Linked DNA regions of Homo sapiens: all the other regions are linked to region 2. Evidence: promoter capture Hi-C in 16 types of primary human blood cells and fetal thymus (Javierre and others, 2016). All regions are on one chromosome and are shown on one strand. The core of a region is centred on a gene start or on the middle of the fragment in contact, and the rest is flanking DNA. Distances in the headings are between cores, read along the strand shown. Region 1 overlaps P4HA1 (prolyl 4-hydroxylase subunit alpha 1). Region 2 holds the start of MICU1 (mitochondrial calcium uptake 1). Region 3 overlaps P4HA1 (prolyl 4-hydroxylase subunit alpha 1).

Region 1 (4,735 bases), core at 8-2,507, 470 kb before region 2:
GGGAGACTCGGCCCCTCTCCCTGCGCCACGCGACTCCCGGCGCCCGCGCTCCTTCGTGCCCCCCTTCCCACCTCTGTCCCTAGTGCGCCTCGGACCGCTGGGGCTGCTGCAGCCTCAGTCCCCGCCCTAGGGACCAGGACTTTCTTGAATTTTCCTTCCCGGGGAGGAATCACTCTGTTGCTTTTTTTTTTTTCCAAGTTCCCCTGCACCTGGTCCTCCCTAACGAGGCTAAGGGGAACGCAAGCGCGGGGCGTGGGCTTTTGGCCGCCACAGCCGCAGATGGTTCGCATGTGGCGGTGGAGAGCGGATTTTAAGGCTTGGAGCTGGATCCGCAGCGCGCCAGGCATTTTTGCCCTATCGAAAGTCGCCGGGAGCTGGGGGGACCTCCCCAGAAAGTTCCGGCTGAACTCATCTGTTGCGCGCAGCGGTGCAGCATTAGCTGCCAGACGTAGCCCGGGGCGCCGAGCTTTCTGCTCGTAGCGCCGAGGAAGTAGGCTCTCAGGTCACCTCGTCGTCAGGGAAGCTTCCTTCCCTCTTCTTCCCCATAACTTTTTTTAAAAAGAGACAAGAGCTCTTCTCTCAATCTCTGTCTCTCTGTCTCTCTCTGCCGAGAATTTGCAGCTTTTAAAAGTCCACATCAGTCCAACAAATTCCATGGTTGTGTGAGGATTTTGAGTTGGATTACATGGCTGGCCCCCGGATGTATGTTTCAATGGGGAGGAAGGATGGTATGATAACTGTGAGACTCTTTCTCCTAAATAATCGACTCTGTTACATACAAATTCAATGTTTAGACACTAACATCTTACGCGTTCCGGATAGAGTGAAGACTCTTGGAATTTTGCACTGTTTTCTTTAAGAAAGGGTTGAAGAAGCAGCTAGATCCTCTTTTAGGAATTGATCTAAAAGGCCAAAGAGACTTGCCAATTTCCACTTAACTGTTTCTGGTTTCTCCGAGAGCAGTGGTTCTCGGACTTTCGCTTGGAATGCACTCGGAGGGGATGAAATAGCCACTACGTGAAGGGGGGAGGGGCAAAGACGTGGCAGCAGCGTTCTTTCATCAATTTTTTACTCTTTTTTTTTTTTTTTTTTAAAGTTCTGGTTAGAAACGTATTTCCCCTTTTAGGTTTAGACGTAGCTTATGAATGAGGCTAGTCTTTTCCTAAAATAATCAGATGAAGAATTCAGTCTGCATAGCAGGAACGTTGGAAGTTAATTTAAAAAACATTTTAAAGGGATTTTTAGAATCAAGTTTCTATGGAGAAAATCGGTATCCTAAGACGATATATTCAAGAAGCTGAAAGTGAACAACCTCAACTATATTTTGTCTTCATGTGAAATGTGAATACACACCCCGTGATTTTTTTTTTTTTTTTTTTTTTTTTTTAGCTTGTGAGCGTAATTTAAGAATCTGAAATGTGAACTTCAAATTTTACTTTTTTCTTTATGTGGGAAAAGAGACTTTATCACTTACCTTTAATAAAATTCATAGTCAGTTTTGGTTTTGGGACATTGTGCCTTAAGTCCTGCCATTGTTTTTGATAGCTGATGACAAATGTTTCTTAGATTTACATAGACTAACTAGGAAAAGGACTATTTCTGTCTCTTTTAAATGGGTAGTGCTGTTTTTATTGACATTTTGAAATGAGTTTTATTTTGAAGTACTGAAAATCAGGACTTTGGTAGGCGGATAATTACATTGGCCATTTTGTGTTTTGGTAACTTAGATGGTAAAACAGTTGAAAAATGTGTACAACTTTTAATTATGCCAAAAAAATTAGTGCAAAAGACTATTGAAAAAAAGTTTTATATTGCCTTGTAGTCTGGGTTGTTGCAGATGAATCTTGGCTTTTTGGCAAGGAGCTGTTAACCTTTTCTATTAGTGCAGAATAAGTTGTATACTGAAAAGCAGTGTTTTTCAGTAGGGCAATTAAGTTCAAACGGCATTTATTCCAGAGATGCAGCAAGAGCTGGGACAGCCATAAAGCTTGTGAGCCTTCCTTTCTGTGGAAGGAATGCTTTATTTTACTTAGCAACCAGTTATCAACTAGGATATAATTATTGCTCTTGAATTGACCTGTGAGATACATAATAGTGGTTCTCAAACTATTTTAAGGTCATGAAATCCTTTGAGAATCTGATGAAAGGTGTGGTCCTATGTCAGAAAATGCAAATACACCCTACATGGAATTTTGTATGTCACTTCCTGCCCCCCCACTCAAGTCCATTCATGAACTTTATTATAAGAACCCCTAAAAAGTAAGAGATGTGAAGTTACTCTCTAAGGGTATCTAGGTGTCTTGAGGCAGTATTGAATGTTTCTGAAAATCGAGCTGGGCATGTAAGTCTGACTGGACTTGTATATGTGGGTGACCCTAATACATTTTTGCCAAAAGGGTTTTAACAAAAGTTAATAGGTTGTTAGAATTGTTGAAATGCTAAATTGTCTAGTCTGTGAAAGTATATCACATTGCATGCCCTCTCCTATATATGGTAACTTAACTTTGGTTTTCCATTCTGAAAGTGGAACAGGCTTGGAAGTAAACAAAAATAAATTGCATAGGCTCTTGGCATTAAACTTTATTGCTTTTCTTGCAGTGAGATCTTGAATCTTGTAATTAAACCATAATGTGTTGTGTGTGTATAAATATATGAATATATATAAAAAATCCAAATAAAATGAGTATGTGTGTGTGTGTGTGTGTGTATATATATATATATATATATATATATATATATATTTTTTTTTTTTTTTTTTTTTTTTTTTTTTTTGAGATGGAGTTTCACTCTGCCACCCAGGCTGGAGTGCAGTGGTGCAATCTCGGCCCACTGCAAGCTCCACCTCCCGGGTTCACGCCATTCTCCTGCCTAAGCCTCCCGAGTAGCTGGGACTACAGCCGCCCACCATCACGCCCAGCTAATTTTTTGTATTTTTAGTAGAGACGGGGTTACACCGTGTTAACCAGGATGGTCTCGATCTCTTTACCTCGTGATCTGCCCGCCTTGGCCTCCCAAAGTGCTGGGATTACAGGTGTGATCACGCCACCGTGCCCGGCCAAAGCTTTGTGTTTCTATTCAAGAAAATTTATTTGTATAAATTGAAGCTGTCCTGTCATTAGGACAGCTTCAGTTTCTCTAGTTGAATAAGTATTGTACCTAAAGAAAAGCTTTGGCAATTCAAAAGGACTCTCATTTAGGTTACTCCAGCAGTTTTTAAACTCGGTGTGGTGAAAAACATTCTTTTTCCTGGTCTTCCTTTGGATGATCAGTATGACTGTTAGTATATTTGATTTGACATTTGCTAAAAATACATTATAGAGATTCAGACTTCTTACCTAGTTGTCATCAGTGAATGAGTTCTATATTGGGCCTTTCTCTTCCTCATGTTTAGTGTTTCATAAAAATGTGTCCATATTACTCATTTCTTTCTTAAATAGTAATATTATGTGGAATTAGTACACTCAGCCTTACTCTCTCTTTTTTTTTTTTTTTTAAGAGATAGGATCTTGCTCTGTTGCCCAGGATGGAGTGCAGTGGTGTGACCATAGCTCACTGCAGCCTTGAACTCCTGGGCTCAAGCAATCCTTCTGCCTCAGCCTCCGGGTGTAGCTCGGGGTACAGATGCATGCCACCATGTCTAGCTAATTTTTTAATTTTTTGTAGAGATGGGATCTTGCTCTGTTGACCAGGCTAGTCTCGAACTCCTGGCCTCAAGTGATTCTCCCATCTGCCCCACAAAGTGTTGGGATTATAGGTGTGAGCCACCATGCCTGGTCATCCTTACTCTCTTGTTGGACACTTGAGCTGTTTCTCCATTATAAGTAGTGCAAAGAGAGGACTGTAATTTAGTGGTTTATTTTATCAACCTGTATAATTACAGTAAACTTTAACCAATTTTTTAATTTTTAAATTTATATTTAAATTTTTTTTTTTTTAGAGACAGGGCCTTACTATGTTGCCCAGGCATGGTGGCTCACACCTGTAATCACAGCACTTTGGAAGGCCGAGGCAGGAGGATCACTTGAGGCCAGGAGTTCAAGACCAGCCTGGTCAGCATAGTGAGACCCCATCTCTCTACAAAAAAAATTTTTTTTTAATTAAGGGGGCATGAGGTTGCATGCATCTGTAGTCTAACTACTTGGGAGGCTGAGGTGGGAGGGTCGCTTGAGCCCAAGAGTTGGAAGCTGCAGTGAGCTATGATAGCACCATTGCACTCTAGCCTGGGTGAGAGTGCAAGACCCTGTCTCTAAAAAAAAAAAAAAAAAAAAGAAAAGAAAAAAAAATTATTTACAATATGGCCAGTAGACTGTAGGAAAATCAAGAATGATGAGAAATGTTTCATAGGAGAAGTAGGACATAAAAATTACATGATATAGCACCATGTGGCTAACATTTTACTAGATATTAAATCTGTAGCACTGAATGGAAATGCATATCTAGATTCACATCCTCTACAACCATGAATTCATTTTTCCCTGTTCTAGTATACATGGTCTTATTTTGTCTCTCTTTACCTCAACTTGAGAAATTTGGATCTGGCATTAGAGTAAACAGATAATTGAAGACTAGAAAGAGGTAGACTGGGTGGAAATAAAAGTGGAATTTTGACAGAATAGCCTTGGGAGGGATGAAGCTGAGTATACCTGGGCCTCAGAGCAATAATCCATTTTTTAGGAGGAAAGGGACTGCTAAAGCCAGCTTTTGAGTATTCTACTCTGACCTGAGTGGCCTTGGT
Region 2 (4,896 bases), core at 2,179-4,678:
GATGCCAAAATGACTAGACAAAATATACAATAGCATTTAACATTTGTATGGTTTAAAACAGTGGTTCTCAAAGTGTGGTCAAAGACCACTGGAGGTTTCCTGAAACCCTTTCTAGTAATCTGTAAGGTCAAGACTGTTTTCTTACTAATACACTGTTATTTGCCTTATCGCTCTAATTCTTTCTTGAGTATATAGTAGAGTTTGCCAGAGGCTACATGAAGTGTAAGAGTGCAAACATTTAATGCAGAAAAGATACAAGAATCTGTCTTCTATTAAGCCAGACATTAAAGAAATTTGCAGCCGGGCACAGTGGCTCATGCCTGTAATCCCAGTACTTTGGGAGGACGATGTGGGCGGATCACGAGGTCAGGGGTTTGAGACCGGCCTGATCAACATGGTGAAACCCCGTCTCTACTAAAAATACAAAAAAATTAGCCGGGCGTGGTGGCATGCGCCTGTAATCCCAGCTACTCAGGAGGCTGAGGCAGGAGAATCACTTGAAACCGGGAAGCAGAGGTTGCAGTGAGCCGAGATCGTGCCACTGCACTCCAGCCTGGGCGACACAGTGAGACTCTGTCTCAAAAAAAAAGAAAAGAAATTTGCAATAATGTAAAACCATGCTACTCTTTTTTTTTGAAGTTGTTTTTCTTAAGAATACATTATTTATGTCAACATATAATGGATCTATTATTTTTAAATGACTAAGTACACATTAAAATAATTTCAATTTTAATTTTCTTTCTTTTCTCTTTTTTTTTTTTGAGACTGAGTCTTGCTCTGTCACTGAGGCCTAGGCTGGAGTGCAGTGGCATGATCCTGGCTCACTGCAACCTCTGTCTACCGGATTCAGGCGATTCTCCTACCTCAGCCTCCTGAGTAGCTGGGATTACAGGCGTGTGCCACCATGCCTGGCTAATTTTTGTATTTTTAGTAGAGATAGGGTTTCACCATGTTGGCCAAGATGGTCTCGAACTCATGACCTCAGGTGATCTGCCGCCTCTGCCTCCCAAAGTGCTGGGTGCCATTGTACCCGGCCTCAATTTTAAGTCCTCATATGCTAAATTAAAAAAAGTTTATAGAGACAGGTTCTTGCGCTGTTGCGCAGGCTGGAGTGCAGTGGCATGATCATAGCTCACTGTAGCCTCAAAGTCCTAGCCTCACGTGATCATCCCATCTCAGTCTCTCAAAATGCTGAGATTATAGGTATTAGCCTCTGCCTGGCCGAATATGGTAAATATCGATAGGTATAACACACATAAATAAAAGTTATTTTGAGTCCTCAATAATTTTTAAGTGTATAGGGGTCCTAAGACCAAAACGTTTGAGAAACAATGATTTATGTTTTTAAATGTTATTTAACAGTTAGTTTGACTGATTAGTTTTATATAGACAAATGTTGCCTAAAATTAGAATTGAATTTCAGCAAATCTTTCTTTCTTTTTTTGAGACGGAGTCTCGCTTTGTCGCCCAGGCTGGAGTGCAGTGGCACGATCTTGGCTTACTGCAAGCTCTGCCTCCCGGGTTCCTGCCATTCTCCTGTCTCAGCCTCCCGAGTAGCTGGGACTACAGGCGCCCGCCACCACGCCTGGCTAATTTTTTGTATTTTTAGTAGAGACAGGGTTTCACCGTGTTAGCCAGGATGGTCTCGATCTCCTGACCCGCCCGCCTCAGCCTCCCAAAGTGCTGGGATTACAGGCGTGAGCCACCGCGCCCGGCCTGAATTACATCATTTAAGAGTGGAAGCCTCAGAGGCCTTCAGGTCAGGTCTATGTCCCGCTACTGCATGTACTGCATTACCTAGGGGTGTCAGCCTGCTTCCCTATCTGCAAATGAATAAAACAGTATCCATCCTAGAGTGGTTGTAGACAAGCACTGGGTTGTATGTAAAGCGCTAGCACAGAGCCATGAACACAATCATCTATTGTACTTAGGTTAGTTGGGTCTGAGAAGAAATGGAGAAAACAGAGTTGATTCTGCTTACTTCACAATTTACCCCAGGGATGGTTTTGTTGGCTTTGTTTCCATGGTTGTTGCCTTTTCCACAGCTCTGCTACGTAAATTCTTGGGAAAAAAAAATTATTTGAAAGTTCTCTGGGACCAGCGAGGTGGCTCGCACTTGTTAATCCCAGCACTTTGGGAAGCCGAGACGGGAGGATCGCCCGAGGTCAGGAGTTTGAGACTAGCCTGCCCAACATGGCGAAACCCCGTCTGTACTAAAAATACAAAAATTAGCCGGGCGTGGTGGGGCGTGCCTGTAATCTCAGCTACTCGGGAGGCTGAGGCAGAAGAATCACTTGAACCTGGGAGGAGGATGTTGCAGTGAGCATCACTGCACTCCAACCTGGGCGACAGTGCGAGACTCCGTCTCAAAACAAACGAACAAACAACCAACCAACACCCCGCTGCCCCCCCCCCAAAAAAATTCTCTGGTATTATAGTCATATTTCCATCCTATTTCCACAGCAGGGGTGAGGATCCTTTGCCATCCCATTTTTCTGATAAAAACACCTTCTTCAGCCGGGCGCAGTGGCTCACGCCTGTAATCCTCGCACTTTGGGAGGCCGAGGTGGGCGGATCACCTGAGGTCGGGCGTTCCAGACCAGCCTGACCAACATGGAAAAACCCCGTCTCTACCAAAAATACAAATTAGTAGGGCGTGGTGGCGCATGCCTGTAATCCCAGCTACTTGGGAGGCTGAGGCAGGAGAATCGCTTGAACCCAGGAGGCAGAGATTGCAGAGAGCCGAGATCGCTCCACTGCACTCCAGCCTGGGCATCAAGAGTGAAACTCTATCTCAAAACAAACAAACAAACAAACAAACAAAAAACACATTCTTCAAGGGAAAACATGTTTTTAAGTGGCTTCTAGAGATTATAAACTCTGCAATAATATTAGTCTGCAAATAAAACACCTGACAAAATCATCCACCAGAGGAAGTGGTGAGGGTTTCTAAATCCAAAAAAGTCTCAAGGTTATGAAACAGGAACATTTAATCTCTGAGAAAACCTAAACGGAGTTGGAAAGAAACAATTTCCAACTCACTGTGGTCCAGTTTTCTTTTCACGAACTCCTTTTTGCTTAGCCAACATAGCCAACACGAAAACGGGTACCGAGGAGGTGTTACAAGCCACAGTAAATTTCTCAACAGATTCCTATGACCCTTGTGGAGGGGAAAAAAACCAGAAGAAATGCCCGAGAGCTTCTGGGAGCTCTCCAGCTTTCCCGCCTAAACGCTGAGGGGAGTAAGGGGGAGTGACGGGGCTAGGGCGGGGCCCGAGGCTGGGGCGTGGCGCGTTGATTTCCCCGCCCCTCCCCGTTCCTTTTCCTCTGTGCCCCTCCCACACGCCTGTCTCCACGATCCCGACAGGCCCAGCGGCTAGGAGAGTCACGTGAGAGTGGGCGGAGGGGGTGGAGGTTTGTCTCCGCTGTTTCATCTCTATGGCTGTCAGAGGTGGGCGGCTTTGACCGAGAGGCTGCTGGAGCTCGTGTTTGGACGCGTGAGTCTTGGACTCTGGAGGGTATAAGGAGACAGCAATTTAGGGAAGGCGAAGGGGAAGGGGGTTGGCGAGACAGCCTTAGGGAACTGGGCTTCGTGGCTGGCCGTTTGTCCGCCCCGGGCATCCGGCTACTTCTCGGGTCTGGCGGGATACCTGTCTCTCCCTGATGCGCTCAGCTTTTGGAGAGGAGTCCGTAGTCTTGCTTGCCTCCCGTCCTCCACTTTCCTTCACCCCAACCCGTCCCTTCTCCCGTCCCGGGAGAACTTCTCCCAGTGCCGGGTTCGCAACTTGGCGCCGACGCCCCCCTCCTCACAGGCGACTGGGACACTCTGGTAGCCTTGACTGGCTCTCCTGGAATTTGTGGATGTGGTTAGAAGTGGGTGCGGGAGTTCACAGATGGATTTCTAATACGGAGAAATATTAACCACTGAATCGAAATAAGTGGAAAATCAGTGAGGACTCAAAGGAGAAATACAAAGTGCAGGCTACTCGGACTGTTCAGTTTTTATCTTTTCCAGCGCCTTCCCGTTTTCATTACGTTCTCCCTGTTTTGTTTTCACCGTCGCATTCTGGCCGGCCATAGGCTGTTTTGAGAAAGAGCTAGATGTTATTGACTCTATGTGAATGTTGGGAGAACAGTTTAAAACAAACTGTTCTTCAAGTTGCCTTCTCTGTAATCTTATGGTTGATGGTTTCTTTACCTTCCAATTTTCCATGTCTTAAAAAATACGGTGGCCATTAGTAAATATAAGTAGAATAAATATCTTATAGCTAAGGGACTAGAGTAAAATATTTTATTTTTCCTGTGGTACCTTAGAAACGCCCATTTTCTTCCTATTTATCAATAAATGTTTCTATCTCACTTGTTTGGGTGGCTTCTTTGATATGCCTTTGTTTATATTAGAACATCCCTTTGGGGCACGTAGGGAAGTGATCGAGCAGTATAAGAAAGGAGTTTGCATTTCATGAGGTGAAACAAGTTCGGTGTGGATAGCTGTAGGAGAGTTTAGGTTTCATTGGACCATATGACAAATAATAAACGTCAGTATCTTGAGACAAAGGTGTTGGCCAGAATGACCCACCTACTGTGTTTCTGGTGTGGACCAGGTAATGAGCTTTTTGAATATTGCCTTATCCTAAAAACTTTAGAACCCATTGCCACTTGTCTGTAGGAAGGTGGCTTTTGCCTCCAGCTACTCTTTGTCCCAATCCTTGGTTTGTCCCTGATTGTCTCTTCCACTTAAGAACATCACTCTGGCTACCTAATATATCAAGCAAGTGTCTCTGACATCTTCTGAGTGTCCTTACTGAGAGCCATAAAACATAATATTAACAAAAAGTGAATATTCTGGAGTGGCTTGTGTGCCTGAGGAGAAAGGGAAAGAATGATAGAAACTAA
Region 3 (4,958 bases), core at 2,346-4,845, 440 kb before region 2:
TCCAGCCTGGATGACAGAGTGAGACTGTCTCAAAAAAAAAAAAACAAAACAGTTGATTATAAGTTAATGAGAAGAGAGGGAAGTCTCATACCTAACTTTTATTCACAAGTAATGATACTGATATTAAAATTTTAAACCAATTTTTTATTTCTTAAGGAGTGTTTAGCATTCATTCTTCTTGGGGTTATATAGTTATCAGTAATTGGTTTGTTTGATTTTTGCATACTTTATATAAATCCTCTAAGATTAGGTTTATATATTGTAAATTTTGGTTGATCAACGTCATGTTTGATAATTAAACTGATTTAAATATATTTTAGTAAACTAGCTTTGCTGTTGATCTTAAATATATAGTTAATATCTCTTCCTTCTCCTTGAAGAATTCCACCAAACTTTATATATTTACATATTTATATAATGTGTAATACATGGAAGAAAAAAACAACTTTAAGAGCACATATTTTACTTACCATCTGTTATCTGGAAGTATAATTGATTGTCAATGAATGTCATTTCAGACCCATAAATGTGTTCATTTCTCAAACTTAGTGGATGCACTTTGTTTTCTTGCTGTGTTATATAACTAAAAACTCATAACTATTATGTTAGGTGATCTTTACCTGCTAATACAGATACAATTTATATAACAGCGTCACAGTCCTTAAGCAACACTAGGCTTTTGGAAGATTGAACAAGTTAGAAGTATGCCAAGTCTTATTCAGTGTATTTAATTTTTTCTTGTTGAGTATGTAGAACTTTTCATGGTGTGGTAGAAAATAATAAAATAGATTTTGAACAATCCTTATTAAGTCTCTTTATGGGAAGTTTATGAGGTTCTACAGTTTTTTTTTCTTTGATTTATCTATTTCAAGGCTTTATCTCTAACCTAACCATTCAGAGACAGTACTTTCCTAATGATGAAGATCAGGTTGGGGCAGCCAAAGCTCTGTTACGTCTCCAGGATACCTACAATTTGGATACAGATACCATCTCAAAGGGTAATCTTCCAGGTAAGATCATTCTTCCATTCTATAAAATACCTATCACCTAGCTTCTCTGTTGAGTCCATTAACACAATGTTAGTATAAAAAAGACTTGCATTTTAAGATTTTAAATTGTAGTTTGTTTCATAGCCTTCGAAGACTAAAGAATCACCTTCCCTTTCTCTTAGGGCTTAATAGTTACGGGTATGCTTCTAGCTTCTAGCTTGTTACTCTGAAAGCTTGTATTGATAGAGACTAACTTAAGTAGGGAATTTTAGTGTGTAAGGAAAAGAAACTATCATTTCACCAAATGTTTTTATTCAGAACACCTAATACTATTTGAAAGCTTTGTATGTAAAGCTATAAGGGATTGATAGTCAAAGTTTATATGTTAAATAATTAAAAGCCAAGATGTTTTGGGTATCCACATATGTTTAAAGTGTTCCATAGTATGGAACATCCTACTTTCTGACCTATTTTTGGCAAAGTCCTCTTTTTAAGTTACAGTTGCTTTCATGATAATTTACTTTTGCCGTCCCTCACTTTTTCAAAGTTTGTGACTCATTACCACTACTATCTCCTGTTATTGTCAGCTGCAGAAATAAAATATGTTGTCTGTGTCTTCACATTGAAATTGATTTTCTCCGTAAGAAAAAATCACTGGGATGAGTTGTTAATCAAAATGTTTTCTTGCTCATCTCCCTTTATTTGAGGTGAAGGTATCCGTTGGTAAAAACTAAACATGGTATAATAGTAAATAAAATTTCTGTTAAGCTGGAATATAATTCCATTAATTTGAACTTCCAAAAATGTACAAATTTGCAAATTTTCAGTTTCTACTAATATTATACATTATAACGCTTTTGATAAGATTATAACCTTATTTTTAAAATTGGTTTCAGGTTTTCATAGATATTAAATACTTAATATGTGCCAGCTATTATGTTAGGTACTGGGGACACATAATGAACAAGACATACACTACCCTCGCCATTAGGGTATTTAACATTCTTACAGTATAGTAAGATGAGTGCTTGGATGGGAGAAATTCAGGATACCATATGAGCACATCAAAAGAAACCTATTGCTGGACCTCATAAGGGATGTAAAGGAAGAATTCCTGGAAGATACACATTAAAAAAATTGAGATCTAATGGACCAGGAATTAGCCAGAAAAATGGGGGAGAGGGAGACAGGAGTGGGTGTGGGAAAAGTGTTTCAGACAGAGGGAACATGTAGAAAGGTCAAAAGGAGAGAGCATATCATATTCAGATAACTAACATGTAGTTTGTATGGCTTAATGTAGAGTTCAAGAGGTGAACGCACCAGGTGGATATGGGGGTTTGGCTTTGTGAGAGTAGTGAGAGCTGAGACTAGAGAGGTAAGCAGAAGCCATCTCTTGGAGAGCTTTGTAAGCCATGTGGAAGAGATTGAACTGTCCTGAGTGCAGTGCGGAGCTATTAAAAAGTTTGTAAGGGAAATTTATGATTTTTCCTTTTAGAAAACCATTCTGGCTGCCGAATGGAGATTGGGTTGGGGCCAAGGGACGAAGAACCAGGGAGGAGGCTGTTGCAAATATTTAAGTAAGAGGTGGTAGTGGATAGATTATCAAGCTACTTATTAGAGTAGAATAGTAGAATTTGATGATGTACTTGATAGGAATTTCTGGCTTCATCAACTGGATAGATTCCATTTAACAAAATAGGGCTGGCATGGTGGCTCATGCCTGTAATCCCAGCACTTTGGGAGGCTAAGGTGGAAAGGATCCCTTGAGGGTAGGAGTTCAAGACCAGCCTGGGCAGCATAGCAATTCCCTGACTCTACAAAAAAATGAAAACTTAGCTGGGTGTTGTGGTGCTTGCTTGTAGTCCTAGCTATTTGGGAGGCTGAGGTGGGATGTATTCACACTGCTATGAAGAAATACCCAAGACTGGGTAAGTTATTTTAAAAAAGAGGTTTAATTGACTCACAGTTCCGCATGGCTACGGATGTCTTAGGAAACTCACAATCATGGCAGAAGGCACTTCTTCACAGGGTGGCAGGAAAGAGAATGAGGGCCAGCAGGGGAAATGCCAGGTGCTTATAAAACCATCCTATCTCATGAGAACTCACTGTCACAAGAACAGCATGGGGGAACTGCCCCCATGATGCAGTTATCTCCACCTTGTCCCGCCCTTGATAGGTGGGGATTATTAAAATTCAAGGTGATATTTGGGTGTGAACACAGAGCCAAACCATATCACGGGAGGATCACTTGAGCCCAGGAGTTCAAGGCTGCAGTGAGCTGTGATCACGCCACTACACTCCAACCTGGGCAACAGAGTGAGACCCCTATCTCAAAAAACAAAAAGCAAAAAAGAAAACATCCCACCTCAGCCTCCCAAATGTGTGGTGGTGGGTAATAAATGTTATTTAGATTACTATATGTGTTTTGTTTAAAAAATGATTATATTCCCATCAAAATGGTCCTGAATATTATTTAACCCTGATTTCACTGTGTTTAGTCTTAGGGGCAATATTCATTCTTTCTCAGGTGCTTTTTATCTCCTTGTTGACTTTTTTCCTCTTTTATCACAGTTTTGGGCTAGTTCTTATTGACTTTTCTTTCAGGCAAATTCCTTATAAGTAGAATAACTGAAATTTCCTAATCACATTATACCCTATAAGTGGTAAAAATAATAGCATGAATACTAGCATAAGAGTTTTTAGGCTCCCCCAACCCAGATTATTTTCTGTTGTTAATAGTCAAATATCACAAATGTGTTCGAAGGCTTCTTGTGCACCTTCCCTTGTTTAGAGGTAATGACTATTCTGAACTTGGTGCGTATCCTGTCATCTTTTTATACTTTATCATATATATTTTCCATTGTATTGTGTTTTTAAATTTTATGTCAATAGTACATCATACTCTATGTATCTTTCTACAACCTTTTTTTAACCTAATATTTTCAGTAAATTTATCTGTGTTGATCAGATTCATCTAACTGCTAATGTGGTATTGTATAACATTATTTATTCATTCTTCTGTGGATGGATGTACATTTAGATTTTGTCCAATTTTTTGCTTTATCAAATGAAGTTTGATACATCTTTGTTGATTTCTTTTTGTGGCCATGTACTCACGTGCAAGGCTTTCTCTTAGGGTATAAGAAATCATAGGGTATTTGGTTTTTCATCATACTTACCAGATGTGGCCAGATTGCTTTCCAGAGCATGTATTTATACTGTCACCAGCATTGTATGAGAGTTCCCATTTCTTCATATCCTTGCCAGCTCTTGGTTTTGTCAGACTTTAAAAATTTTAGCAATCTGGGTGTGAAATGGTGGGGGTGAGGGAGGAAGGATGCATGTATTTTAAATTTTCTTCAAACAAAAAAGTCAGAGAAATGCTTAGTGAATTTATATTGATGCCACATCACTCCTTGATTAGTTTCATCTGTTTCTTTTGCCTCTTTGGGCCTATCTTTTGAAATGCTTTGTTGGTATTTTAATGAAAAATCTGATAGGTTACATGCATTTTGACATCAGTGTTGTCCTTATAGTTCTTAAGGACTTCCTTCAGTTTTCAGATTGTTTGTTCCCAACCCTGATTTGTTGAATAGATCCATATCTGCCAAAGATATCATGCTTTTTTTTAAGCTGTGATTTTTTTTAGGGGGTGGGGGTCAGTAATAGAAAATGTCATATGTACAAAATTCAATTTGCTTCATGTGGAAGTTGAATGTTCACCCTTCTGGTCACTTGCATCACTGTCTTGGTAAGTTAATAAGGTAACTATAGCAAACAGTAGATTCTCCAGACATCTCTGGAGCTCACTCAGCTATCAGTGTACCACACTGCCTCAGAGGTGGGACATTAACTTCTAAGTGTGTGCATTTTAAACATAATTATCCCTTACAAATTAAGTTTTGATCCATTAAGTGTTCTTGTGAAGTGCAAGAATTTTTGGATTACGTGTCTCTCTCAGTTTAACGG

What was found. Contacts are between HindIII fragments. The CHiCAGO score rates a contact against its expected background, and 5 or more counts as called.
Region 1: a fragment that was not itself captured here is called in contact with the fragment with the promoter of MICU1 in region 2 in 1 of 17 cell types (erythroblasts); the score reaches 5.0 in erythroblasts.
Region 3: a fragment that was not itself captured here is called in contact with the fragment with the promoter of MICU1 in region 2 in 1 of 17 cell types (erythroblasts); the score reaches 5.3 in erythroblasts.

Annotation. Positions count from the first base shown.
Region 1 is chr10:73,091,880-73,096,614 of GRCh38, reverse strand. All of the region lies in intron 1 of P4HA1 (prolyl 4-hydroxylase subunit alpha 1), which reads left to right. Among named protein-coding and RNA genes, the nearest start is that of P4HA1, 2.6 kb to the left of the region's middle. RefSeq lists an enhancer at 1-368. The HindIII fragment of the contact is 1,464 bases long and covers 526-1,989 here.
Region 2 is chr10:72,624,611-72,629,506 of GRCh38, reverse strand. It overlaps MICU1 (mitochondrial calcium uptake 1), which reads left to right and starts at 3,428. Exons shown (of 12, transcript NM_001195518.2): 1 at 3,428-3,497. RefSeq lists enhancers at 3,424-3,573, 3,124-3,661. The HindIII fragment of the contact is 6,741 bases long and covers 1-4,896 here.
Region 3 is chr10:73,064,898-73,069,855 of GRCh38, reverse strand. P4HA1 (prolyl 4-hydroxylase subunit alpha 1) reads left to right here. Exons shown (of 15, transcript NM_001017962.3): 5 at 873-1,010. Among named protein-coding and RNA genes, the nearest start is that of P4HA1, 29 kb to the left of the region's middle. The HindIII fragment of the contact is 4,527 bases long and covers 1,332-4,958 here.